Linked DNA regions of Homo sapiens: all the other regions are linked to region 3. The links are contacts of gene promoters, found by promoter capture Hi-C in blood cells and fetal thymus (Javierre and others, 2016). All regions are on one chromosome and are shown on one strand. The core of a region is centred on a gene start or on the middle of the fragment in contact, and the rest is flanking DNA. Distances in the headings are between cores, read along the strand shown. Region 1 has its middle 86 kb from the start of LINC02038. Region 2 has its middle 73 kb from the start of OPA1-AS1. Region 3 holds the start of GP5 (glycoprotein V platelet). Region 4 has its middle 99 kb from the start of OPA1-AS1. Region 5 overlaps OPA1 (OPA1 mitochondrial dynamin like GTPase). Region 6 holds the start of LOC102724808 (a long non-coding RNA gene).

What was found. Contacts are between HindIII fragments. The CHiCAGO score rates a contact against its expected background, and 5 or more counts as called.
Region 1: a contact is called between a fragment that was not itself captured here and the fragment with the promoter of GP5 in region 3, in 2 of 17 cell types (M0 macrophages and endothelial precursors). The highest score is 6.2, in M0 macrophages.
Region 2: a fragment that was not itself captured here is called in contact with the fragment with the promoter of GP5 in region 3 in 2 of 17 cell types (M0 macrophages and M2 macrophages); the score reaches 5.7 in M0 macrophages.
Region 4: a fragment that was not itself captured here is called in contact with the fragment with the promoter of GP5 in region 3 in 3 of 17 cell types (endothelial precursors, M2 macrophages and M1 macrophages); the score reaches 7.8 in endothelial precursors.
Region 5: a fragment that was not itself captured here is called in contact with the fragment with the promoter of GP5 in region 3 in 1 of 17 cell types (naive CD4 T cells); the score reaches 5.3 in naive CD4 T cells.
Region 6: a fragment that was not itself captured here is called in contact with the fragment with the promoter of GP5 in region 3 in 6 of 17 cell types (naive B cells, endothelial precursors, naive CD8 T cells and 3 more); the score reaches 7.8 in naive B cells.

The regions. Positions count from the first base shown.
Region 1 is chr3:193,755,996-193,760,204 of GRCh38, reverse strand. No RefSeq gene overlaps it. Among named protein-coding and RNA genes, the nearest start is that of LINC02038, 86 kb to the left of the region's middle. The HindIII fragment of the contact is 1,329 bases long and covers 1,498-2,826 here.
Region 2 is chr3:193,697,986-193,702,562 of GRCh38, reverse strand. No RefSeq gene overlaps it. Among named protein-coding and RNA genes, the nearest start is that of OPA1-AS1, 73 kb to the right of the region's middle. RefSeq lists an enhancer at 372-431. The HindIII fragment of the contact is 4,711 bases long and covers 1-4,577 here.
Region 3 is chr3:194,396,467-194,400,695 of GRCh38, reverse strand. GP5 (glycoprotein V platelet) reads left to right here and starts at 1,430. Exons shown (of 2, transcript NM_004488.2): 1 at 1,430-1,458; 2 at 2,412-4,229. The coding sequence starts at 2,414. The coding sequence ends at 4,096. RefSeq lists enhancers at 1-46, 47-600 and a silencer at 3,480-3,529. The HindIII fragment of the contact is 7,722 bases long and covers 1-4,229 here.
Region 4 is chr3:193,724,577-193,729,032 of GRCh38, reverse strand. No RefSeq gene overlaps it. Among named protein-coding and RNA genes, the nearest start is that of OPA1-AS1, 99 kb to the right of the region's middle. The HindIII fragment of the contact is 1,448 bases long and covers 758-2,205 here.
Region 5 is chr3:193,634,783-193,637,299 of GRCh38, reverse strand. It overlaps OPA1 (OPA1 mitochondrial dynamin like GTPase), which reads right to left. Exons shown (of 31, transcript NM_130837.3): 9 at 1,778-1,882; 10 at 19-105. Among named protein-coding and RNA genes, the nearest start is that of OPA1-AS1, 8.7 kb to the right of the region's middle. The HindIII fragment of the contact is 1,071 bases long and covers 715-1,785 here.
Region 6 is chr3:193,679,096-193,683,418 of GRCh38, reverse strand. All of the region lies in intron 29 of OPA1 (OPA1 mitochondrial dynamin like GTPase), which reads right to left. LOC102724808 (a long non-coding RNA gene) reads left to right here and starts at 320. Exons shown (of 5, transcript XR_924835.3): 1 at 320-397. RefSeq lists a silencer at 2,893-3,093. The HindIII fragment of the contact is 1,717 bases long and covers 1,409-3,125 here.

The sequences.
Region 1 (4,209 bases), core at 913-3,412, 640 kb after region 3:
TTCCTGAGCTAGTGCTTGCTCCTTGCTACCATACTCTGCAGTACAGTCTTTTCTGATTCCAAACTGTCATTGGACTTTTGACCAAGGTGTCATTTCTCTGGAAATGTCAAACTTACTTAGGAGTGTGTTGCCAAAACAGAAAGGCATCTTTTCAGACTTTGTCCTGTCACACTGGATTAGAAAATGTCATGCTCTTTCTTTAAGGTGATCCAAGATAAAATCCAGCCTGGATGGATGGAAAGGTAAAGGGGAGGGAAACAAATAAACAATACAGCCTGAACTAGAAGGTTGAGGTCCTGGAAATTAGTCCTCATGATGTCTTTTACCATTATGTGATCTAGGGGTCATTCTGTCCCACCTTGGTCTCTAGACTAAGCTTCCACACACATAAGATGAGAAGTTTTCACCAAATGGTCCTTAGTGTTCTGTGTCCAGGGCTCCTTCAGTCAAAGAGTACCCTTGGCTGGGCGCGGTGGCTCATGCCTATAATCCCAGCACTTTGGGAGGACAAGGCAGGCGGATCACGAGGTCGGGAAATCGAGACCATCTTGGCTAACACAGTGAAACCCCGTCTCTACTAAAAATATAAAAATTAGCTGGGCATAGTGGTAGGCACCTGTAGTCCCAGCTACTCAGGAGGCTGAGGCAGGAGAATGGTGGGTGAACCCAGGAGGTAGAGCTTGCAGTGAGCTGAGATTGTGCCACTACACAGAGCGAGACTCTGTCTCTAAAAAAAAAAAAATAGAGTACCCTGCCTTTGTTGGTGTTTTCATTTGCCACCATAACCAAGAGAAGACAAGATGTCATCTGGGCCACATGTAGAGCCTTTAGTGTCCTGGGAGTCATTAAAATCCATGCATGCTGAGCCCTCTCATAGACAGCAGGAAGTTCTTTCCTAGTATGTGCTGCTGTTGGGAGAGAAATTATAGGATACAAACTGGGGAGTCCAAATCTAGTGTGTCACAAAAGCCTGGTTTGACCATAGCTGCCAGATACGGTTTGGCTCTGTGTCCCCACCCAAATCTCATCTGGAATTGTAATCCCCATGTTAAGGGAGGGACCTGGTGGGCAAAATCTGATGCTTTAAAAGTGTTTGACAGGCCGGGCACGGTGGCTCATGCCTGTAATCCCAGCACTTTGGAAGGCCAAGGCAGGCAGATCATGAAGTCAAGAGATCAAGACCATCCTGGCCAACATGGTGAAACCCCGTCTCTACTAAAAACACAAAAAATTATTATTGTTAGCTGGGCGTGGTGGCGTGTGCCTCTAGTCCCAGCTACTTGGGAGCCTGAGGCAGGAGAATCGCTTGGACCTGGGAGGCAGATGTTGCAGTGGGCTGAGATCGGGCTACTGCACTCCAACCTGGCGACAGAGCGAGACTCCATCTTAAAAAAAAAACGTGTTTGACGGTTCCCCCCTTTCTCTCTTTCTCTCTCTCTTGCCACCTTGTAAAGAAGGTGCCTGGTTCTCCTTTACCTTCCACCATGTTTGTAAGCTTCCTGAGGCCTCCCATCCATGCAGAACTGTGAGTCAATTAAACCTCTTTTCTTCATAAATTACCCAGTCTCAGGTAGTATCGCTATAGCCATGTGAAAACGGACTAATACACTGCCCCTACAGAATGGGCAGATGCTCTCATGGCCAGTTCTCAGTAACAGCAACATCTTGTGATCAATTCTTCAGTTTCCTATTGAAAGTTGCTCCTCACAGGCATCTCTGGCTAAGAGGTCTTTGTGCCTTGAAGAATAAAAACCATGGGTATTTAGGAGCTAATTTATTTCTCTTTTAATCTTTAAGGCCTTCTGTTTTCATCTATTTTAGTCTAATACCAAAAGGATCTGCTTATTTGTGGATTCATTCATTTAATCATTCATTCAACAAATTATTCTTGGCTCCTCCTATTTATCAGTCACTATGCTAGACTGGGGCTTCACACAAGGTTTTTGCCCTCACAGAGCTTATAATCTACTGGGAGAGGCTAAAAATGAGCAATACATATATGTGTAATTACAAATAATTTTAAGAGCTCTGAAGTAAAAGAAGAGGGAGCTGAAGGCAAGAATAACACATGAGACTAATTTACACTGGGCAGTGACAAAGTGACAACTTATGCTAAGATAGGTTTTTGCAAGTACATTCAGTGCTTACAGGTTTCACATGGAGCCCAATTTTCTGTTAACCTAGAAAGAGAGATTCAGCAGAAGGTGATGAGTATAGTGGAAAACAGTGGTTCCATGCAGTCCAACACCACGTTTATTTCCTGGGTGTAAGAGAGAAAATTAGTAGAATAAGTCTGCCCAATGCTGAACATCTCCCTTTTTGGGAGTTTGCAGTCAGAAAAGATTGTGTTTAGTAATAAAGCAACCATTTCTTTTTTTATAGTACATGTTGGCCAGTTTCTAGTTAATCCCTATAAACTTTCTCAGTTAAATCATTCAGTCAGCCAAGGTTGAGTGACACATGACTTCCTTGCTTTAAGCAAAGGGGTCTTGTTAAAGAATATTACAATGGTTTAAGAGAAATTGGATCCTACCACTCTGCATCATCAGGAAGACTAATCTTGCAAAGAATTAAAAACACATGGGGATTTCTGTGTCTGATCCTGACATAGTAACTGGTACATAACTTGCCTTCACTTAAAACAACTACAAATGGGGAAAAACACATGAGGCAAATGTTTTCAGACACGGAGCAATAGGCAATAGGGGAATGTGATTTGGGAGACAAGTGAACTATATGACGTGAGTTCCATGGTCACCCCAGTTTTTTTCCCAAGGAAATTCTCCTGCTGCAATAAAAAGAGCTAAGGAGGCAGAGATTGAAGCTTTGGGATATAGACATGGCTGAAATTTGTGGGGTGGGATATCAGAAAAGAAGATACTGCACAGAAAATCAGGCCACTGAAGTCTGCATGGGGATGGACTGTGGGTCTGTGGCTGAGAACTCAGCTGCCCATACACAAGGCCTAGCAAGGGTCACATGCTGCAGGACTGGGAGCTGAACAGAGAAACCAGAAGTCCTGCTTTGCTGAGAGACGTTGGACTTCTGTCCCAAGCAGAACATTTTGAAGATTCAGTTGAGATTCTAAAAAGGTTATGCCTTGAGATGAAGAACCATGCTGTATAGTAAGGGCCAGCTCTAAACCTAAGCTCAATACAAAAATAGATCCCTTCAACAATGCAGGGATTAGAGGGGAAATGGAATAAAAAAAAATACGCCCACTTTCACAAAGAAAAAGAAACAACTCTAACAGGACCAAAATTATATTCCAAACACTTAACTGCCTTCAAGAACAAAATTCAATGTCCTTTAAAAGAAGGTGACAAAATCTGGACTCCCTATATTATCCATGTCAGAGAACAAACAATAAAAAATTATCAGACATGAAGATATAGGAAAATGTGACCCAGTTAAATTCAAGAAAAAAAAAATCAATCAATAGAAATAGACCCTGAGATGCTCCAGGTGTTAGAATTAACAGACCAGACTTCAAATGTAAAAGTTATTAACACATTCAGTGATTTAAATAAAAATATAGGAAATCTCAGCAGAGAAATGGAAACAATAAAAAAGAACCAAACAGAATTACCAAAACCGCAAAGAAAAATGTGTAGAATTAAAAATTCTACTAGATGAGCTTAATAGCAGATTGCAGACTACATGAGAATGGGTTAATGAACTTGAAAATAGGCCTTTTGAGATTGTTCAACTTGAAACAGTTTAAAGAGATAAAAAAGATTAAACAGATTCTCCATGATGTGTAGGGAAATACCAGGCAGTCTGACATATGTGAAATTAAGGTGTCAGAGGGGAAGAGATGAGAAATGGAACAGAAAAAAAATATTTAAAGAAGTGATGGCTAGAAAATTTCCCAGAGTTAGTGAAAACCATTAAAATACCAATCAAAAATGCTCAGTAAACACATTGAATCACAAATACACATGGTATACACATAAATACACATAGATCTACATTCAGGCATGGGATGGTCAAACTTGAAAATGAACAATACAGAGAAAAAATTTAAAAGTAGCTAGAGGACAAAAGCAGATTACATACAAGGCAAACAATGATATGAATGACAGCTGAACTCTTCAGAAACAATGAAGGCCCGGAATCAATAAAATGGATTTTAAAGTACAGAAGGAAAACAACAATGAGAAAATAATACTCTCTCAGCTCTGAAGTCTACATCTAGCAAAAATATCA
Region 2 (4,577 bases), core at 1,072-3,571, 700 kb after region 3:
ACTCATCTGCTCTAGAAAGTTCCCCATTTCCACATTCTCATCTTGTGGTTTTTGAGGAGGTTGAGCATACCACGCCTCATCCGTGGAGGCTTTCTGCTTGGCTGGCTTCAGACAAAGTTACCATTAACTCCCCAACCTGCAAGAAAATGATTTGACACAAAGGATTCCAAAATGTCCTCCTCTCCCCCTACAAGCCTGCAAACAAATGGTACAGGAATGAGGCCAGAAAGGAATCCCCCGCCTACCAGGCCCCTGAATTCATTTACCTACCTCAGAGCCCATTCAGAGAAAGGGGTGGGACAGGGAACAAGAGATGCTTGGAGGCCAAGTGGAGTTTGGGGGTCGAGCGCCACATTACAAGATTTGACAGGCCTTTGCGAGCCCTCAGCTTCTTTGTGTCTCTCACATAATAGAGAAACACAAAGTGAGCAGCACACGACCTGTGGTTACACCCTTGGACAGAGCACACTCTTTGCAAATGCTAATAGTATTGTAGCATCCTGTCACCCGGTAACACAAAAAAGGATGTTGATTTTCACATGAACCAGAACAGGCCCATTGTACACAAGTTTGTGACCAACTTGTAGTACCTGCACATCAAAAGGCCAGCCAATCATAGAGTACACAGCTGGCGAAACGTACCAACGGGGGGCGCCCAATGGGGAGAGCATCCAGGTCCAAATGCCTCACTCCACCAACAGGATAAGAAAACAATGCTTTTGACGCGAACAAAATTACACTCTCAGAATCTTGATTCAGCTATGACCAGAGCAATGAGTATAATTAGCAAGAATGTGAATGTCTCAGATGTTTTGAGAAATCTGAATGTATGAAAGTGGGAGTGGCTTTGTGATGGTACCAACAGCCTATGAAATGGCAGAGGCAGCAAATGGCAGGCATGTTCAATTAAGCATTCATATTAGAGATGTTCTGATACGGGTAAAGATAACTCATACAGATTTTGGCATGAAAATCTGTCTTTCGGTCCTAATAGTCTTGGGAAACCAGACATATCTCAAGGCAAGAAAATTAAAGAATGTACATGAGATACCTGGAATATAAGTTTAGTAGAAATTTTAAAGAATTCTGCTAATAGCTTTTCCTTCAAAATAATTTTATTGGGGGTGGGGCGCAGAAAGACACTCAAAAGTAGTAATTTGGGCCAGGCTAGGTGGCTCACGCTTATAATCCCAGCACTCCGGAAGGCTGAGGTAGGAGGCTTGCCTGAACTCAGAATTTTGAGATCAGTTTGGCAACATATTGAGATCTCATCTCTACTAAAAATTAAAAAAAAGATTAGCTAGGCATGGTGGTGTGTCCCTGTAGTCCCACCTACTCGAGAGGTTGAGGTGGGAGGATCACTTGAGCCCAGGAGGTCGAGGTTGCAGTGAGCTGTGATTGTGTCACTGCACTCCAGCATGAGGGACAGTGAGAAACCCTGTCTCAAAAAAAAAAAAAATAGTAATTTGGAAAAAGAAAATATTCAATCAAGTTTTTAAAAACTGAGGAAAGAGCAATTCCATATTTTAATACTTGGACTAACTAAAAAAGATTGACAGAATCTGCACAGGATAAAATGAGAGAATTAACATTATTAACATGTTGAGAATTGCAAAGCACTTGTTTTTTACACCTAAAACTTAAGGCCTGGCGTTAACATGAAATTAGAACCTACTGAATCTCATCTTCTTGTCCACTAAGGTCTCACAGGCAGCCACACATCTCTGCTGATAGTTCCATTCTTGCAATGCAACAATAGCCTCATGTAATTAGTAAAGACTATCATAGGCCATTTTTGTTATGAGTTAGGTCATTTTGTACTTTCTAGGTATATCATGTGCCCTAATGTGCTCCTAATATCATAAATGTTTACTTTCCGAAAAGTATTTCTGAAAGGGAGCATATTTTGGAAAGTGCATAGGCTTGTAATCATACTTGTTTTCAAGTTTCAACTTTGCTATTCAACTAGAATAACCTTGTGCAAAACCTGAGCTGATTTTCTCATCTATAAAATGGAAACAATACTTTCTGTGATAATGGGTGCAAAACACAAGGTATACTGGTTTCTTTGCTCTGGATTCAAGTTTTCTTCTTAGTTTCAAAATTTTAAAGGGAAACCAAAAATGTTTCATGGGACCAATCCTTGGCAAGATAGGATATTGACCGTTCAAAAAGAATTCAGTGGAGTTTCTCCATGGATCCCAAAATGCTGCTGGCCAGTTTTAGTCTACTTTGTAGTGTTCTGAGTCCTGCTCAGACCTTTATAATAGGCCCTTAGTTAGGATGTGTTAATATTTCTGGAATGGCTGCAAACTTACACATATCTCTCTGCATCCTTCCTCTCAACACACATCAGGCACCTCCTGCTACTGTGGTGTTGCTCCCGGCAGCGGGGAGGCAGGCATGTTATTGTCACTGGGTGTGTACTGTGTCCTTGAGGTGATTTCTGATTTTTTTACTATATATATATATGAATTGATTGTAGAAAAAAATTATATACATTAGGTATGCAAGGGGAGTGGCTGTGTACCACCTGGAGCATTATGGCACATGTGGGAATTCTTAAACCCTCTAGACAAATATATTTCTTAAAATGAGAAATAAGTAAGCATTGTATTTTCTTAGTGACGCAAACTAACACAGAAAGCTGTTTCTGCGTTAAGATGTATGGAAAGAGAGATTAATAACAAAAATAGAACACAAACTAAAGGAGCAGAAAAATGGTTAGGTTCATTCCTTCAGTTGAGAGGGAAATTAATTTCAGCATTTCCTGGCAGCTGAAGCAAAGAAAATGGTAAAGTCTTGAGTTCTCATTGTCACAAGGAGAGCAGTACATACATGTGTCTGGAGGGGAAACCGCTGGTACTATCTAGTAATCCTTAATGAATTTCAGTGATAATCAAGACATGTCATTAGGTTAGACTTCTGCAAAAGAGACTGTGTATTTTCTTCAAATAGATGTGTCATAAGGTCTTGCCTGTGAAGCCAAGGACGTAATATCAAAGAGGTAGGTAAGTAGCAGCCCAGGCAGTATTGCTTTCTGATGATTTGGCCTAATCTCAGATGAAGTTTACCAAAGCAAAAAAAGGAGGTTAACCTATTCCCTACATATTCTCTCACAAATATCAGAGGTCTCAAGAGCTTTTGGAAAGTATTAGGTCACATAAACCATGAGCATATTTTCTGACAAATGGATAAAATTCTAACTTCCGTATTGTTGCTCTGTGATTTAATAACTACAAGAGTAAGCAGCAGAATGAGTATTCTGTTCTGAACATTAAAGAGTGTAACTTATATTCTTAATACAGCCGTAAGACATATCTCTGTGGGGGGCTGCTGGCAGTATCACTGCACTGTGACTAGATCTTCAGGGGTGCCTCTGGCCTAGTTTTTTCAAAAACAGATCTCTGAATTTCCCAAATACTTGGAAAGGAACAGTTTACACCTGGGTTAATGAATTAAAAGTACTAACAGCAGGAACAAGAATTTTTTATCACAAAGAGTAACAATCACGCCTGTGATCCCAGCACTTTGGGAGGCCGAGGCGGGTGGATCACGAGGTCAGGAGATTGAGACCATCCTGGCTAACATGGGGAAACCCCATCTCTACTAAAAATACAAAAAATTAGCCAGGCATGGTGGCAGGTGCCTGTAGTCCCAGCTACTCGGGAGGCTGAGGCAGGAGAATGGCCTGAACCCGGGAGGTGGAGCTTGCAGTGAGCTGAGATCGCGCCACTGCACTCCAGCCTGGGCGACAGAGCAAGACTCCAACTCAAAAAAAAAAAAAAAAAAAAAAAAAGATTTTCATTTAACAGCATTTATAAGTAGTATTTACCTCCTTGTCAGTGACTTGGCCACAAATGCACCTTAACGCGGCTTCTGCAGAATATGTACGTAACTCACGAGAAGTCTTGGAGAGGAATCACATACATACTCTCAATTTTCAAGCTCAATTCTGTCATTTTAGGATATAAATTTAAACAAATGCCTTATGATATAGGTTTTTCCTACCCTTAGTTTTAGAAGCTGTCTTCTTCCAGCTAGAGATCACCCATATTTAAGCCTTCCTGATACTGTCTCCTGGTTTTGAACCTTTAACAATTTTTGTAGTATTTGTTTGAACACTTAAGTTTTCTACACTTATTAACTGGGTCTAATATGTGCAGGACATGATTGTTTTAGTTATCACAAATCGGGTATGTGGTTATTTTAAGACGTACTTCATAATTAAATACATCTGTATTATCTATAGGCACATGGTAGCTATTTCAATTTGATAAATATATTAATTCTTCAATCAGACATGCTAAAAAAATTAATTGCTCTATTAAATCTTCAGTAACTAAATTCTTCAAACGTTTTGATACACGAAGATTCTGAACTTGAATTACACAAGGATGAAAACCTAGTTTAAAATAAAGTATGGGGCCTCACACTGAGTCTGTTAGCACTGATAAAGAAAACCAATGCTAACACGATTGAAACATGTTCTTGCCTCTGCATCTTCTGAAGGAATTAAGAAGGCACACCTATACGCTACCTAACTTGACATATCCAATGATCGACAATTAGTAGGT
Region 3 (4,229 bases), core at 181-2,680:
CATCCCCAATGAGCCGCTAGGCACACCTCCCAGACGGGGTCGTGGCCGGGCAGAGGGGCTCCTCACTTCCCAGTAGGGGCGGCCGGGCAGAAGCGCCCCCCACCTCCCGGATGGGGCGGCTGGCCGGGCAGAGGGGTCCTCACTTCCCAGTAGGGGCGGCCGGGCAGAGGCGCCCCTCACCTCCCGGATGGGGCGGCCGGCCGGGCGGGGGGCTGACCCCCCCACCTCCCTCCCGGACAGGGCGGCTGGCCGGAAGTCTTAATGCAGACAGCATTATCAGTGTGTTCAAAAGACACGTAGACACGTTTTGCCTATAGACAAATGGGCAAAAGGAAACCCAGCTTTCTCAAATGAAGCACAAGTGGGCCTTAATTATGTGAAAAGGTGTTCAAGTTCATCATTAAACAGGGAAAGGAAAAGTTAAAATCATGCTGAGATATCTTTCATAGAAATGGCAAAAAGCAGGAAGTGCCACGTGTGGGCAGAGAGGAAGCACAGGAACTCTCACAAATGGCAGGTGTCATCGTAGACCAACACAACCACTTTGGAGAGCAGTTTGACTTTCCCCAGTTAAACTGAACATGTGAGCGGCCGGGCGTGGTGGCTCATGCCTGTAATCCCAGCAGTTTGGGAGGCCGAGGCGGGCGGATTGCCTGAGCTCAGGAGTTCAAGACCAGCCAGGGCAACACGGTAAAACCCCGTCTCTACTAAAATACAAAAAATTAGCTGGGCGTGATGGTGTGTGCCTGTAATCCCAGCTACTTGTGAGGCCGAGGCAGGAGAATTGCTTGAACCAGGGAGCAGGAGGTTGCAGTGAGCCGAGATCGCACCACTGCACCCCAGCCTGGGCGACAGAGTCCCCCTCCCCCACCAAAAAAACAACAAGTGAGCATCCTGCAACCTAGCAATGCCATTGTTGAACAAGTTCAAAGATGTTCTTAGCCTTATTAGTCCCAAAAGGAAGAAAAAAATGGAGGATTTGAGAATGTTCTTAGCTTTATTGCTAAGCGGAGAAAGAAAAACAACACATACCAAAAAAAAAAAAAAAAAAAAAAAAAAAAAAAAAAAAAACCTGGGTGGGAAATTAGGGCCATGTGGCATGAAAAGGAAGACCCAGGGGAAGTGTGGCCCATCTAGGGGTGTGGCTACTGCAGTGATCCAGCTGTATCACTGAACTTCCCTGGCATCATAGAGTTATATTGTGCCATTTATGGAAAAACTCTCCCCACTGCTCTTGGCTTTGACAGTAGGAATCAGGTTATATATGGTCTCTCGGTTTGAAGATATTTGTCATTAAAAACCAGAACAAGGGCTCTGAGATAGGGTCCTTTCCTGACCTACTCTGGTAAAGTCTTTATCCTCAGGATGCAAGGATACCACCCTCTTCCTGTGGAAAGTGTCGAATCACATGCAGAGCTCTAAGTCTTTCAGTTACTTTGGAGTGCAGAACCATTTCAGGTAAGGCCAAATATTTTAAACATTAGTATAGGAAATTAGAGGGCTCTTTAGTCTGTGTGTGCATGAGAAGTAAAATTGCACGAGAAGCAATTTATGTAAAATTTCGCTTAGGAAACATTGTTTTGGCAGGTTAGTAGTATGGTGTGCATTTCCCAGAAAATTCAGTGCCGTGAGTATTACCTTTAGTTAAGCATCTTAGAAATAGTAGCTCTTTATGGCTAAGTCAGAAATACTACCCTCAAATTCTATGTGACCCTAGTTATACTGTTGAGCCTTTCTGTGCCTCTGTGCCTTCATCCTTGAATCGGGGATAATATACTTACCTCCTAAGGTTATTGTAAGGATTAAATGCATGTAGTATAAATAAAGAGCTGAGAACAATGCATGGCGTAAAGTGATAGGTATTATTATATGCTTTTGTTGGCTGTTGATTGAAGGTGTTCGCTGTTTTGGGGGTGTCCTTTAATAGAGTAACTTGGTACTGTGGAAATAGCATGATTGTGAGCAAAAGAATCAGATGGTGGTGGCTGCAGACTTTGCTGTTCCCTTCTTGACTGTTGGTTATAGCCAATGCAGGGTAAGTTATAAAGTCAAGAGCAGAGCCGTTTTCACAATGGACATTGCTTTGTGATGTCTGTGAGCTTGAATGTGAGAATGATTATTTTAATTCTCTATGTAAGGACTTTAAAGTATTGGCTATTCGGTAGCTTGAAAACTCTGTAATCTCAATGCTTTAAACTGAGAGTGGAAAATCAATAAAGCAAAAGCATGAGGCCACGCAGTGTAGAATGAGTGTCTTTTCACCACGTAGGGAAATCTGTAGTCCTAAGAAAAGAGGGAGTGAGAATTCTGGCGAAAGGATTGTGCCTCTGCACAAAGTGCAGGATCCCAGGGTTCAGTACAGGCGCGAACGCTCCTGTGTGTTGACCACACTCCCACGGTTGCTTTTTCAGACATGCTGAGGGGGACTCTACTGTGCGCGGTGCTCGGGCTTCTGCGCGCCCAGCCCTTCCCCTGTCCGCCAGCTTGCAAGTGTGTCTTCCGGGACGCCGCGCAGTGCTCGGGGGGCGACGTGGCGCGCATCTCCGCGCTAGGCCTGCCCACCAACCTCACGCACATCCTGCTCTTCGGAATGGGCCGCGGCGTCCTGCAGAGCCAGAGCTTCAGCGGCATGACCGTCCTGCAGCGCCTCATGATCTCCGACAGCCACATTTCCGCCGTTGCCCCCGGCACCTTCAGTGACCTGATAAAACTGAAAACCCTGAGGCTGTCGCGCAACAAAATCACGCATCTTCCAGGTGCGCTGCTGGATAAGATGGTGCTCCTGGAGCAGTTGTTTTTGGACCACAATGCGCTAAGGGGCATTGACCAAAACATGTTTCAGAAACTGGTTAACCTGCAGGAGCTCGCTCTGAACCAGAATCAGCTCGATTTCCTTCCTGCCAGTCTCTTCACGAATCTGGAGAACCTGAAGTTGTTGGATTTATCGGGAAACAACCTGACCCACCTGCCCAAGGGGTTGCTTGGAGCACAGGCTAAGCTCGAGAGACTTCTGCTCCACTCGAACCGCCTTGTGTCTCTGGATTCGGGGCTGTTGAACAGCCTGGGCGCCCTGACGGAGCTGCAGTTCCACCGAAATCACATCCGTTCCATCGCACCCGGGGCCTTCGACCGGCTCCCAAACCTCAGTTCTTTGACGCTTTCGAGAAACCACCTTGCGTTTCTCCCCTCTGCGCTCTTTCTTCATTCGCACAATCTGACTCTGTTGACTCTGTTCGAGAACCCGCTGGCAGAGCTCCCGGGGGTGCTCTTCGGGGAGATGGGGGGCCTGCAGGAGCTGTGGCTGAACCGCACCCAGCTGCGCACCCTGCCCGCCGCCGCCTTCCGCAACCTGAGCCGCCTGCGGTACTTAGGGGTGACTCTGAGCCCGCGGCTGAGCGCGCTTCCGCAGGGCGCCTTCCAGGGCCTTGGCGAGCTCCAGGTGCTCGCCCTGCACTCCAACGGCCTGACCGCCCTCCCCGACGGCTTGCTGCGCGGCCTCGGCAAGCTGCGCCAGGTGTCCCTGCGCCGCAACAGGCTGCGCGCCCTGCCCCGTGCCCTCTTCCGCAATCTCAGCAGCCTGGAGAGCGTCCAGCTCGACCACAACCAGCTGGAGACCCTGCCTGGCGACGTGTTTGGGGCTCTGCCCCGGCTGACGGAGGTCCTGTTGGGGCACAACTCCTGGCGCTGCGACTGTGGCCTGGGGCCCTTCCTGGGGTGGCTGCGGCAGCACCTAGGCCTCGTGGGCGGGGAAGAGCCCCCACGGTGCGCAGGCCCTGGGGCGCACGCCGGCCTGCCGCTCTGGGCCCTGCCGGGGGGTGACGCGGAGTGCCCGGGCCCCCGGGGCCCGCCTCCCCGCCCCGCTGCGGACAGCTCCTCGGAAGCCCCTGTCCACCCAGCCTTGGCTCCCAACAGCTCAGAACCCTGGGTGTGGGCCCAGCCGGTGACCACGGGCAAAGGTCAAGATCATAGTCCGTTCTGGGGGTTTTATTTTCTGCTTTTAGCTGTTCAGGCCATGATCACCGTGATCATCGTGTTTGCTATGATTAAAATTGGCCAACTCTTTCGAAAATTAATCAGAGAGAGAGCCCTTGGGTAAACCAATGGGAAAATCTTCTAATTACTTAGAACCTGACCAGATGTGGCTCGGAGGGGAATCCAGACCCGCTGCTGTCTTGCTCTCCCTCCCCTCCCCACTCCTCCTCTCTTCTTCCTCTTCTCTCTCACTGCCA
Region 4 (4,456 bases), core at 232-2,731, 670 kb after region 3:
AGGAAGCATGGCCGGGTGCACTCAGTGAGGAAGGGAGACGCTGGGGACAGAGCAGCCCATGGGCAGGTGACTGTAGTCACTCAGTGGGGCTGTGGACTGGGCTGTGGCAACAGTGAACAGAGGGCAGGCTCACAGCCATGCTGCAGGAAGCAGCCTTTGCAGGTGACTGACTGCCTGGGATGAGGGTGCGGGATGGAGAGGGAGCAGCACCCACCACACCAAGGCTGGACCAGATGCCTCCTCTGTTATCCCAGGGTACGCTTGTCAGTGCACGCATCATAGCAGCTTGAAGCTTGTCCCCCATCCTGGACTGTACATAACACAGCAACATTATACCCCAATGCAGGTGCTAAGAAATACGTGTTGAATGAATGAGAGTGACTCAAATTTACACTCCACTTTCAAAATAAAAGCCCTTAGCCAAAGCTACTCCTTGTTTGGGAGGGAACTCAATTTTGGATTATGAGATCCCTGGATTTTTCCCTGGTTTCAGGATGGATGCAGCTCCAGGAGATTCCCTGGCTCTGCCGTGGCTCTTCCCATATAATGCAGGCCCAATGGGAACACTGGGTTACCTGGACCCCCATCCTCCTCATCACTGATAGTCATCAAGGCCAAATTTCTGGAGTGTCTACTCTGTGCCAGACTCTGGAGATGTGACAGATATTATCTTATTTAACTCAACTTCTCTTTATGGAAATCTTTTGAGTAAAGGTTTATAATCCCATTTTTTTCCAGAGGTCTTAAAACTGAAGCTTAAAAAAAAGGTTTGTAACTTTCCCAAGGCCACTCAACAAGGCATGATGGATGTAGTCACACCACAGTGAGGCCCTCGAGGATGGGCCTGGGTGTGTTCTCTACCTTACCCGCATACCTTTGCCCACACTGTGCAATTTTCAGTTTTGTTGAATGAGTGAATGAAACAACATTTTTCTGACTCCAAGCTCAAACACATTTTGAGCCTTCGTTGTCTTATCTGAAAAATGGAAATAATATGAAACTCACACACAGGCTTGGTGTGAGGTTAAAATGGGTCCTGGCAATATGTTTGGGAATCCTAGGGGTATGTAAGCCACCTTCCTTCCAAAAGTCCCCAAATCCCAGACTGCCGAGAATGCCTGCAGACACCCTTCAGACGAGGTGTGGCCTTCAGAGCTCAGCTCTCCTCCCACCAGGGCTCGTTTGTAAAGCCAGGTCTGATACTTAACACCAGCATCATCACCTGCCACCAGGCAAATGAGGAAACCTTCCATAAAAAGCTGAACAAACTCCCTTTATTTCTAATGCACCTGAAACCTGCTCACGACTCCCAGCCGCCACCCCCATCCCAACCACACCTCTCAGCTCTACCTGCTTCCAAACTCTAACCCTTTGTCAAGGAAGTCAGAGGAAGTGAAAGGTTAACTGAAAGGGGGGCGTCTTTGTTGCCAGAATAAGTTAGCGGTGGGGTTGCTGTCTCCGCCACTGCTGCTAAAGTTTCAGCTGCTGCGGCCACACAGAGCAGGGCCTTGTTCTTTCATGAAAGTTCTAGTCTTAGTTTTGTTTCAGGGATGTGGAGACTTCAGCAGGGCTTTTGTGGCCAAAGAAATCTCCTGGACAATAGGGTCACCCTCCAAAGTGTTTGCTCCACCCTGGAGGGAGAGCTGGGGCTTACAAACTGCACGGCTGCACTTGTGGACGTGGAAAGTTCCATGAGGGTCCAGGAGAAAGGGAGGAGTCTAGCCTCCACCATGCCAGCCACTTCTTAGGCCGAGTCACCATGCTCAAAGAGCACTGCCTACAGCCCTCACCTCGTGGGGCCAACATCAGCCACACCCACCCAGGGACGAGATGGGAGATCTAGACCCAGTCGAATTGCCTCACTCAGAAGCTGGCTTTTTCTGCCTGATGCAGCTAATGACCCCTCTTTGTCTAGAGTGCCAGACTGTTTTGTGACCACACACATCAAGTTTAGTAGGGAAAGTAAGGGTGGAGATGGGGTAAAACGTTACTGAGCATTAAGCTAATATCAGGTGCAGTGGGAAGCACTTTAATAATAATTTTTGTTAAGCACATACTATGTCCTAAGCATGCTATTAAGCATTATATAAATATTATTTTGTTCTGTGTTCATAATAATCTTCCAAGGAAGATAGGAATATTATCATCTTCATTTTACAGACGAGACTGCTGAGATTCAGAGGGATTGAGTGACTTGTCTAAGCTTATATAGAATATAAGTGGTGACGCTGGGACTTAAATATGGGAATTGAATCTATATCTGTACAACATAGATGCCCAAATTTTCATATTTTTTTCTTTACGGAAGTATAACTGATGTACAACGTACTATACATATTTAAAGCATACAATTAATAAGTTCCCGCATCTGTGAAACTATCATCACAAACAAGACAATGAACATATCTGTCGCCCCCAAATTTGTCTCGTGTCCCCGTAATACCTTCATCCTGTATTCAGGCAACCACGGATCTACTATCGCCATTTATCAGCTTGCACTTCCTACAATGTATGGTTCCTAGAACCATATAGTATGTACTCTTTTAAAAAAAAATGTGGCTTCTTTTACTTAGCATAATCATTTTGAGATTCACCCATGTTGTTACATGTCTCAGTGGTCCACTTTCTTTTTCTTTTTCTTTTTCTTTTAAAGACAGGTTGTCACTTTGTCACCCAGGCTGAAGTGCAGTGGTGTGATCTTGGTTCACTGCAGCCTCAGCCTCCCAGGGTCAAGTGATCATCCCACCTCAGCCTCCCCAGTAGCTGAGACTACAGGCCTGCACCACCACATCTGGCTAATTTCTTTTTTTGTATTTTTTTGTAGAGATAGTGTTTTGCCATATTGCCCAGGCTGGTCTCGAACTCCTGAGCTCAAGCCATCTGCCCACCTCCGCCTCCCAAAGTGCTGGGATTATAGGCGTGAGCCACCGCACCTGGCTGGTCCATTTCGTTTGATAGCCAAATAGTGTTCCACTGTATGAATATACCAGTTTGTTTATCTGTTTCTCTCTTGCTAGACATTTGGGATATGTCTAGTTTTTAGCTGTTACAAACAAAGCTGCTGCGCACATTTGTGTACACATCTTTGTATAAAACACATGCTTTCATTTCTCTTGGGTAGACAGGAATGAAATGGCTGGATCATATGATAGTTTTGTATTCGATGTTTTAGGAAACTTCCAATTGTGTTCCAAAGTGGTTATACCATCTCACATTTCCACCAAGAGTGTATGAAGATTCCTGTTACTCCATATCTTTGTCAACACTTGGTATGGTCGGTCTTTTAGTCCTAATAGGTGTGTAGTGGCATGTCATCTTTTCAGGTGCTTGCTTGTTATTGTAGATCTCCTTTAGCAAAACGTCTATTCAAATCTATCGCCTACATTTTTTGTTTTGTTTTGTTTCTGTGCTTGTAAATTGTGCTTTAGTTTCTGCAATCAGATAGAATGCAGTGAGATACAAGCATAAAGCTTCACTGTGCATCCAGAAAATAAAAAGCACACATATGCAGATTGAGCTGAACGGCTTATTCCCTTAATAAGAAAATAAAAAGCACACATATGCAGATTGAACTGAACGGTTTATTCCCTTAATAAGAAAATAAAAAGCACACATATGCAGATTGAGCTGAACGGCTTATTCCCTTAATAAGAAAATAAAAAGTTTTGAATTTAAAAAAGCTTGTTAATCTTCAGTGTAAAAACTTGGAGGTATAAACAGTTTCAGTTCATTATACATGGTAAATTAATATACAATTCTCAAGTTGTACAGCATAGCATTGTAAGCAAAGTAAATCGTCTCATTTCAGTTTTTACTCTTAAGCATAATCCACACCTCAACCTTAGATAAAAATTTCACAATATATAAAGCCACTGAGAATTCTGTATACAAATGCAGGTTATAGAAATCTGATTTCAAATACAACTACAAAAATTGTCACGACCTTACATGTTACAACAGCTTACTTATTTTTCAATTATAATTTTTAAAAATTATAGAAAAGAATTTCACTGTAATCCCAGCACTTCAGGAGACCGAGGCAGAAGGACTGGTTGAGCCCAGGAGTTTGAGACCAGCCTGGACAACACAGTGAGACCCTGTCTACACAAAACTGTTACAACAACAATAAAAAAAATTAGCCAGGCGTGGTGGCAAGCACCTATGGTCCCAGATACTCAGGAGGCTGAGGAGGGAGGATCGCTTGAGTTCAGGAGTTTGAGGCTGCAGTGAGCTATGATGGTATCACTGCACACCATCCTGGATGACAGAGTAAGAACTTGTCTAAGAAATTAAAAAAAACCATCTCAATGCACATTCAATGGCTGTGACAAGGGCCATGATCTTGTGCCTTTAAATCATACTTTCTGGAGTATAAAGCATCACCCGTGTGTTTTAAATTGGGTTGTTTGATTTCTTATGATTGAGTTTTGAGAGTTCTTTATATATTCTGAATACA
Region 5 (2,517 bases), core at 1-2,500, 760 kb after region 3:
TATCAATTTTTCACATACCCGTGGCAGATGATCTTGCGTATTATAACTGGCATCATAATCAGAGAGAACATCAAGAACTTCAGAATACATGTCAATCAAAGATTTCTGTAAAAATTTTAAAAAGTTATAATATAAAACAGTAAAAGTAAAGAAAAAAATATAACAGATGTGTCAAGAGAAAAAAGTGATAAATTCAAATTGTTTTTCCATAATCATTGTACTGTTTTCTCAAATTACATAAATACATCTTCATCGTAAAAACTAAAACGGTACAGATTAAAAGTCCATTTCTCATTCAGTTTATTTAGATACAATGATTTAATAAAGTAAATTAATTCAGGATTTCCTAACATTCTAATTAAATAAGATGGAAATTATTACTTAATACTGATGAGCTAATACTGAATGCAAGAAAAGACCATTAACACCAAAAAGGCAAAAAAAAGGTGGTCAGGTAACCAACTGACAATGAAATTATTCTTTGCTAAGTTTGAGGCATGCATGAGAGAGAAAGAGAGAGGACAGAGAGCACGTGCAAGCAAGCATCTGAATAAAGGATAAACCAGGAAGACTGTTAAACCAGTAAGGGTGGTTAAGTATCCACTGACAACTGGGCAGGCTGAAATATGAGTGTAGCAAGGGCAAATATCCTGTATCGTTTCTTGCTGTAGAATCAGAAATGAATGTGGTGCCTTGCATTGCGTGTAACAAGCTTCATGTAAATTTGATGAATGAATGAACAAAAAAATACACAGGCCTGAAAAAAAGGGGTACCATCAAGCATTTAATAATTATGGATAAGTTTTAATGCTAAGGCAGGAGCAAAATGATGGCTTAAGGGTCCTTTCATTTCTTAATCCCTAGAAAAAATTAAATGGCAAGCAATTGCCAACCCACCAGCCTAAAAATAAACAAAAAATGTTAATTGCCACTGCATTTTATGAGAGAAAATACTGTTTCTGAGGTAAACTCTACATATATTAGCACTTGGAAATGACTTTTCTCAGTTCTAAGTGCCACTTGTAAATAGTCATGTTATCTGTTTTATGCAGTCATGATTTATAGTCAAAGCTACTAATGCATGTTTGTTAAGCTAGAACTGTATTATCTTTGGACCTTGACTACAGAATGTACATGCCATGATTTACTGCAGTTTTGCTACATATAAACTCTGCTTACTTATATGAGATTTAAGTTAAATAATTGTTTCAATTCAATTTAGCACATGTGGTTTAGTTGGGTGGGGAATAGTAAGACTTGATTTATTGGTAAATAAGTTCACCAATGTGCTGATAGTAACAATACCAGCACACACTTTTTCGAAAGTTCTTTGAAATGCCTAAGAAAGCTCTCCTTAGAAGAAAAGTGTTAATTTTTTAAAAACTGAAGAAAGTGGTCTAATCATTCACTGGCATACAAGTAAAGCAATGATGATAAGTCACTTACATGTCCATCAATTAACAATTCTGATTTTATATAAAATTTTATGTAAAAGTTAAGCCTAGAGATAAACTAGATATTTCAGAAAAATAAACTGATTCACACGAAATAACTCTTAAAAGTGTAAAGATTTTATGGGCATAGTATAAAACAAGTATTTGGAGACTACAACTTATAAAATGTCTTAATATAGGAAGAGATCCTCCATCCTCCAAGCACATTAGGTTAGAAAGAAAAGGATGACAGAATACTTTACAGCTCCTTAGAAACTGGTACTGATGAACACACAACGTTAAGCGGTAAAATTTTGAGAATAAACAAGACAAACTTAGAATACCTTAAGCTTTCTATGATGAATGCCTTTGTCATCTTTCTGCAATACTAATTTTCTCAATTCTTTGTTCTCCTTTTCTAATCGTTCCAAGATTCTCTGATACTTCAACTGCAATAAAATAATAAGTGTAACTATATAAGCAAAAGATGGGTTATCAAATAGTATTAAGTCTAAATTAAAATCTTCCAAAATCTTGAAGTCATATCTCCTATTTAAAATGTATTACATTTTAAAAGCATCTACGAAAACATTAGGAATAAAATAAACAATGACTATTATCTCTTACAAACAGTGGAAATCATTGTAATTTTCTATCATAATTAAGAATTTCACTTGGAAAATTCCTTGCTACTCACATTGAAAAAATTATTTTGAAATAGTGAAAACGTAAGAATTTAAAGAAGTAGTTCTTAAATACATTCTAGAAGGGAGTATTTCCTATTATATCAAAATTTTAAGTCTTCACATTACAGGGCCACTTAACAAAAATTCAAATTCTTCCCTTTCTTCACATTATTTTAGATTTTAATTAAGATGCTATAAAATAATAGCTAGCAGTACCCAAGCATGCATTATGTGACAGACTCCTTAGTAAGTGGTGCAAACGCATTAACTCCCTTAGCCTTCACAAAAACCCCATAAAGCAGGAATTACACAGACTAGGAATAAAGAGCGAGGAATATCTGAGAGCCTGACCAAGGTCACTTAGTAGAGGAGCAGGGTTTTGAATAGAGGGCTGTCAG
Region 6 (4,323 bases), core at 1,018-3,517, 720 kb after region 3:
CTGCAGCTGCTTTATCTACTAAGTTTATGTAATATTCTAAATCCTTTACTGCCATTTCAACAATGTTCACAGCATCTTCACCAGGAACAGATTCCATCTCAAGAAACCACTTTCTTCAAACTGAGACTGCCAAAAAAAAAAAAAAGAAAAAAGAAACCACTTTCTTTGCTTGTCCATAAAAAGCAATGTTTCATCTGTTCAAGTTTTATCATATTACAACAGAACTAATTCTAGTTCTATTGCTGTCTCTACCATATCTGCAGTTACTTCCTCCTCTTAAGTCCCAAACTCTTCAAAGTCATCCATGAGGGTTGGAATCAACTTCTTCCAAACTGTTAATGGTGACATTCTGACCTCCTCCCATGAATCCTGAATGGTCTTAACAGCATCTAAAATGGTGAGTCCTTTCCAGAAGCTTTTCCTTTTTTTTTCTCCTAAATCCATCAGAGGAATCACTATCTATGGCAGCTAGGGCCTTAAGACACGTATTTTTAAAATAATAAGACTTCAAGGTTGAAAGTATTCCTTGATCCATGGGCTGCAGAATGGATGTTGTGCTAGCAGGCACAAAAACAACATAAATCTCCTTGTACATCTCCCTCAGAACTCTTGCTTGACCAGATGCATTGTCAATGAGCAGTAATATTTTGAAAGAAAACTTTTCTGAGCAGGTCTCGAGAGTTATAATATTCAGTAAACCATGCTGTAAACAGATGTGCTGTCATCCAGGCTTTTTGTTCCACTTTTAGAAAACAAGCAGGATAGACTTAGCATAATCCTTAAGGGCCCTAGGATTTTCAGAATGGTAAATTCTTTAGGTTGGCTTCAACTTAAAGGCACCTGCTGCATTGGCACCCAAAATGAGGGGATAGCCTCTCTTTCGAAGCCTCGAAGCTGGGCATTGACTTCTCTCTAGCTATTAAATTACTAGATGGCATCGTCTTCCAATAGACAGCTACTTCATCTGCATCAAGAATCTGTTGTTTAGTATAATCACCTTCATCAATTATCTTAGTTAGATATTCTTGATAACTTGCTGCAGCTGCTACATCAGCACCTTGCACTTTCATGTTGCAGAATGGCTTTTTTCCTCTTAAACCTTATGAACCAAACTTTGCTAGCTTCAAATTTTATTCTGCAGCTTCCTCACCTCTCAGCTTTCGGAGAATTGAATAGAGTTAGGAACTTGCTCTGGATTAGGTTTTAGCTTAAGGGAATGTTATGGCTGGTTTGATCTTCTATCCAGACCAGTGAAACTTCCTGCGTCTCAGGCAATAAGGCTGTTCTGCTTTATCATTCGTGTGTTCACTGGAATAACACTTTTAATTTCCTTCAAGAACTTTTCTTTTGCATTCACAATTTGGCTAATAGCCCATTTTGGCTTTCAACAAACCTCCTTTACTAAGCTTAATCATTTCTAGTTGTTGATTTAAAGTGAAATATGGCACTCTTTCTTTCACTTGAACATGTAGAGGCCATTGTAGGGTTATTAGCTGGCCAAATTTCAATATTGTTGTGTCCTATGGAATAGGGAGGCCTGAAGAGGAGGAGAGAGACAGGGAATGTCTAGTTGGTGGAACAGCCAGAATACACACGTTTACTGATTAAGGTCACTGACTAATATGGGCACAGTTAGTGGTACCCAAAATAGCTACAATACAAACATCAAAGATCACCATGACAGACAGAATAATAATGGAAAAATTTGAAATATTGCAAGAATTACCAAAATGTGACAGTGACATGAGGTGAGCACATGGCTGTTGGGAAAATAGTGCCAACAGGCTTGTTCAATGCAGGGTTGCCACAAAACTTCTATTGTTAAAAATGCAATAACTGTGAAGTGCAATAAAGTGACATGCAATACAATGAGGTCTGCCTGTACGTAGAACCCTTGAGCATGCACTTTGAGGGGCACCAATTTTATCTGAAAGTTTACTTTATTTCACTTGCCTGGATTTTCCTTTTCTTTCAACCCAAATTTTTCACTTAAGTAGTTTTATCTTTTGCGTAGGATATATGTAAGCTGCCTCAAATTCCTTTTGGAATATGCCAGGGAATTAATAAACAAACTAACAAGCTAGTCCACAGAAGATATATTATTAGCCAGCTGATTCACATAATACACCACAATATTCTAAAAGTGGTCATTTTATACTGGTAATAGTTTTTAAATCAGTAATTTAAGAATATTCTGCAGGGCCATAGAGGGACAATATTTGTTACATAAAACCTTGCATAAATAATTTCTGCATGGGAGAAAAAGTAAATTATTTTTATTTCTGCTGAATTCTTAGAAAACCCAATGATATCAATATCTATTCCTACAATACTTATTTTCAGCAACAGAAGTAAAAGCATAAATGTTTATGGGATTTATGATCATCTTTTTAAATGTAAAAAATGAATAGATTTTACCATAAGATTACAATGATTTACTCTGAAATATTTTACTTTTGTATCCAATACATAAGATGCTCCACACTTAAATTATCACAAAAAACTTAAAAAGTTATTTTATATGTTAACTCATTAATGATACATGGCTTTGTTTTCTCAAAAAAGAGTTACATTATTTCAAAATGAATACATTCATTTTACTCCCTGACAAAAATCTAAATATCGATAATACATTTTAAAAAATATGATTTAGGCAATTAATTGGGAAGATTAAAAAAGATCAGTAAAATATTCTTAGTCAATTAAATGCTTTAAAAATTCATCTTTTCTTCTTTTTCTCTTATTCCTAAAATTGTATTTTTCCCTGATTTAGTTAGGAGGAAAGCAGAAATGTTCTAAGAAAAGGAAAACCACCCAGGCAGCTCTTAAAGAGGTAGGCATCATTTATCACCTGCAAAGACAGATTTATAAGAAGGCCCCTTCTGTTCCTTTAAGACTGCAAAACAGATGGGAAGTGAATGGACAGTCAATGGGACAAGAAAACACATGGGAGGTGCTGCTGTATGCATGTTCCCAGCATAAGAAAGAGGTCAAGATTGTAACTGCATGACTGGGTCCTGGAAAGGGTCTTTCTTCAAGCTGTTACAAAGACAAACGCTGTTCCTCATCCTGCTGTCAAACTGTTATAAATATTGGTTTGTCAAAAGACCTTCAGTGCTGAAGCTTTAAAAAGGAGGCATAACAGACGAATGAATCATGAGAATGATTCTTAAACAGTCAGTTCATCACTGTAATTTTAAAAGTAAAAGATCAGAGAATGTAATTCTGATTTATACACCAAACTAAAAATTCATAAAAAAAGAAATTAAAAATCGTAGGTTTTAATAAAATTATGAATTAGGTGAGATGAAAGCAAAAATGAAATACAAGTTCCATTTCTTAAAAAAATGGTGTATTAGGATAAAGCATTATGAAACTTAGCACAAGAAGAACAGGTATTCATGTTAGGCTGATTTCAGAAGTTCTCGGTTTATCACCGAGTTTATCTTACAGAGGTGCTGTTTATCACAACTGAGTGAGAATCAGGCTCAGAAAAATAAAAATAACTTCTAAACTAATTTCATTTATTCCATTAAACTGGAAAATCACCTTTAAGTCACAATTTCTTTTCTATTGAACAATCACAAAATTCAACTGGCACTGAGCATACATAGATTTATAAACCTAGAATTATCTTTTTGGAGGAATGAAAACATTATGTACCTCTTTAGGAGGCAAATTCATTGTTATAGATCCTTAACACGTATCAAAAATCACATAAAAAAGAAGCCAAATTATATGAACTTGGTTGTCTATGGTTACCACAAACACAAACCCAGAGACTAATGATGAACAGAATACCTAAACAATTCTTTAAAAAAAGTCCTATCTGTAACACATATGATTAGCCCCAGCTTTGCCATAAATATTTACATAATGGGCTTAACCATTTATGTCAATGAACGTTAATTTCTCTATCTGAACAATGGGCATAATGCCTCATATGACTTTACAGACACACATGGACAAGCAGAAGTTTTGTAAACTGTAAAATAAAGCACTACATAAATGTGAGGGCCAGATCCTAGAGTTTCAAGTAGGATATGGACTCCAAAGTACCAAATGATGCAGTTACATGGAAGCATTTTCTTCCCTCCCTCCCTCCCTCTCTTTCTCTTTCTTTATGAGTTTTGAAACCTTTTTTTTCCCCGTTATTTCTTCTTAAAAACAAAAACAAAAACAAAAGCGGGCTCTATGTGCAGAATGTGCAGGCTACACAGGTATACGTGTGCCATGGTGGTCTGCTGCACTTAAGTCCTCTAAGTTCCCTCCCCTCGCCCCCCACGCCCCAACAGGCCCTGGCGTATGCTGTTCCCCTCCCTG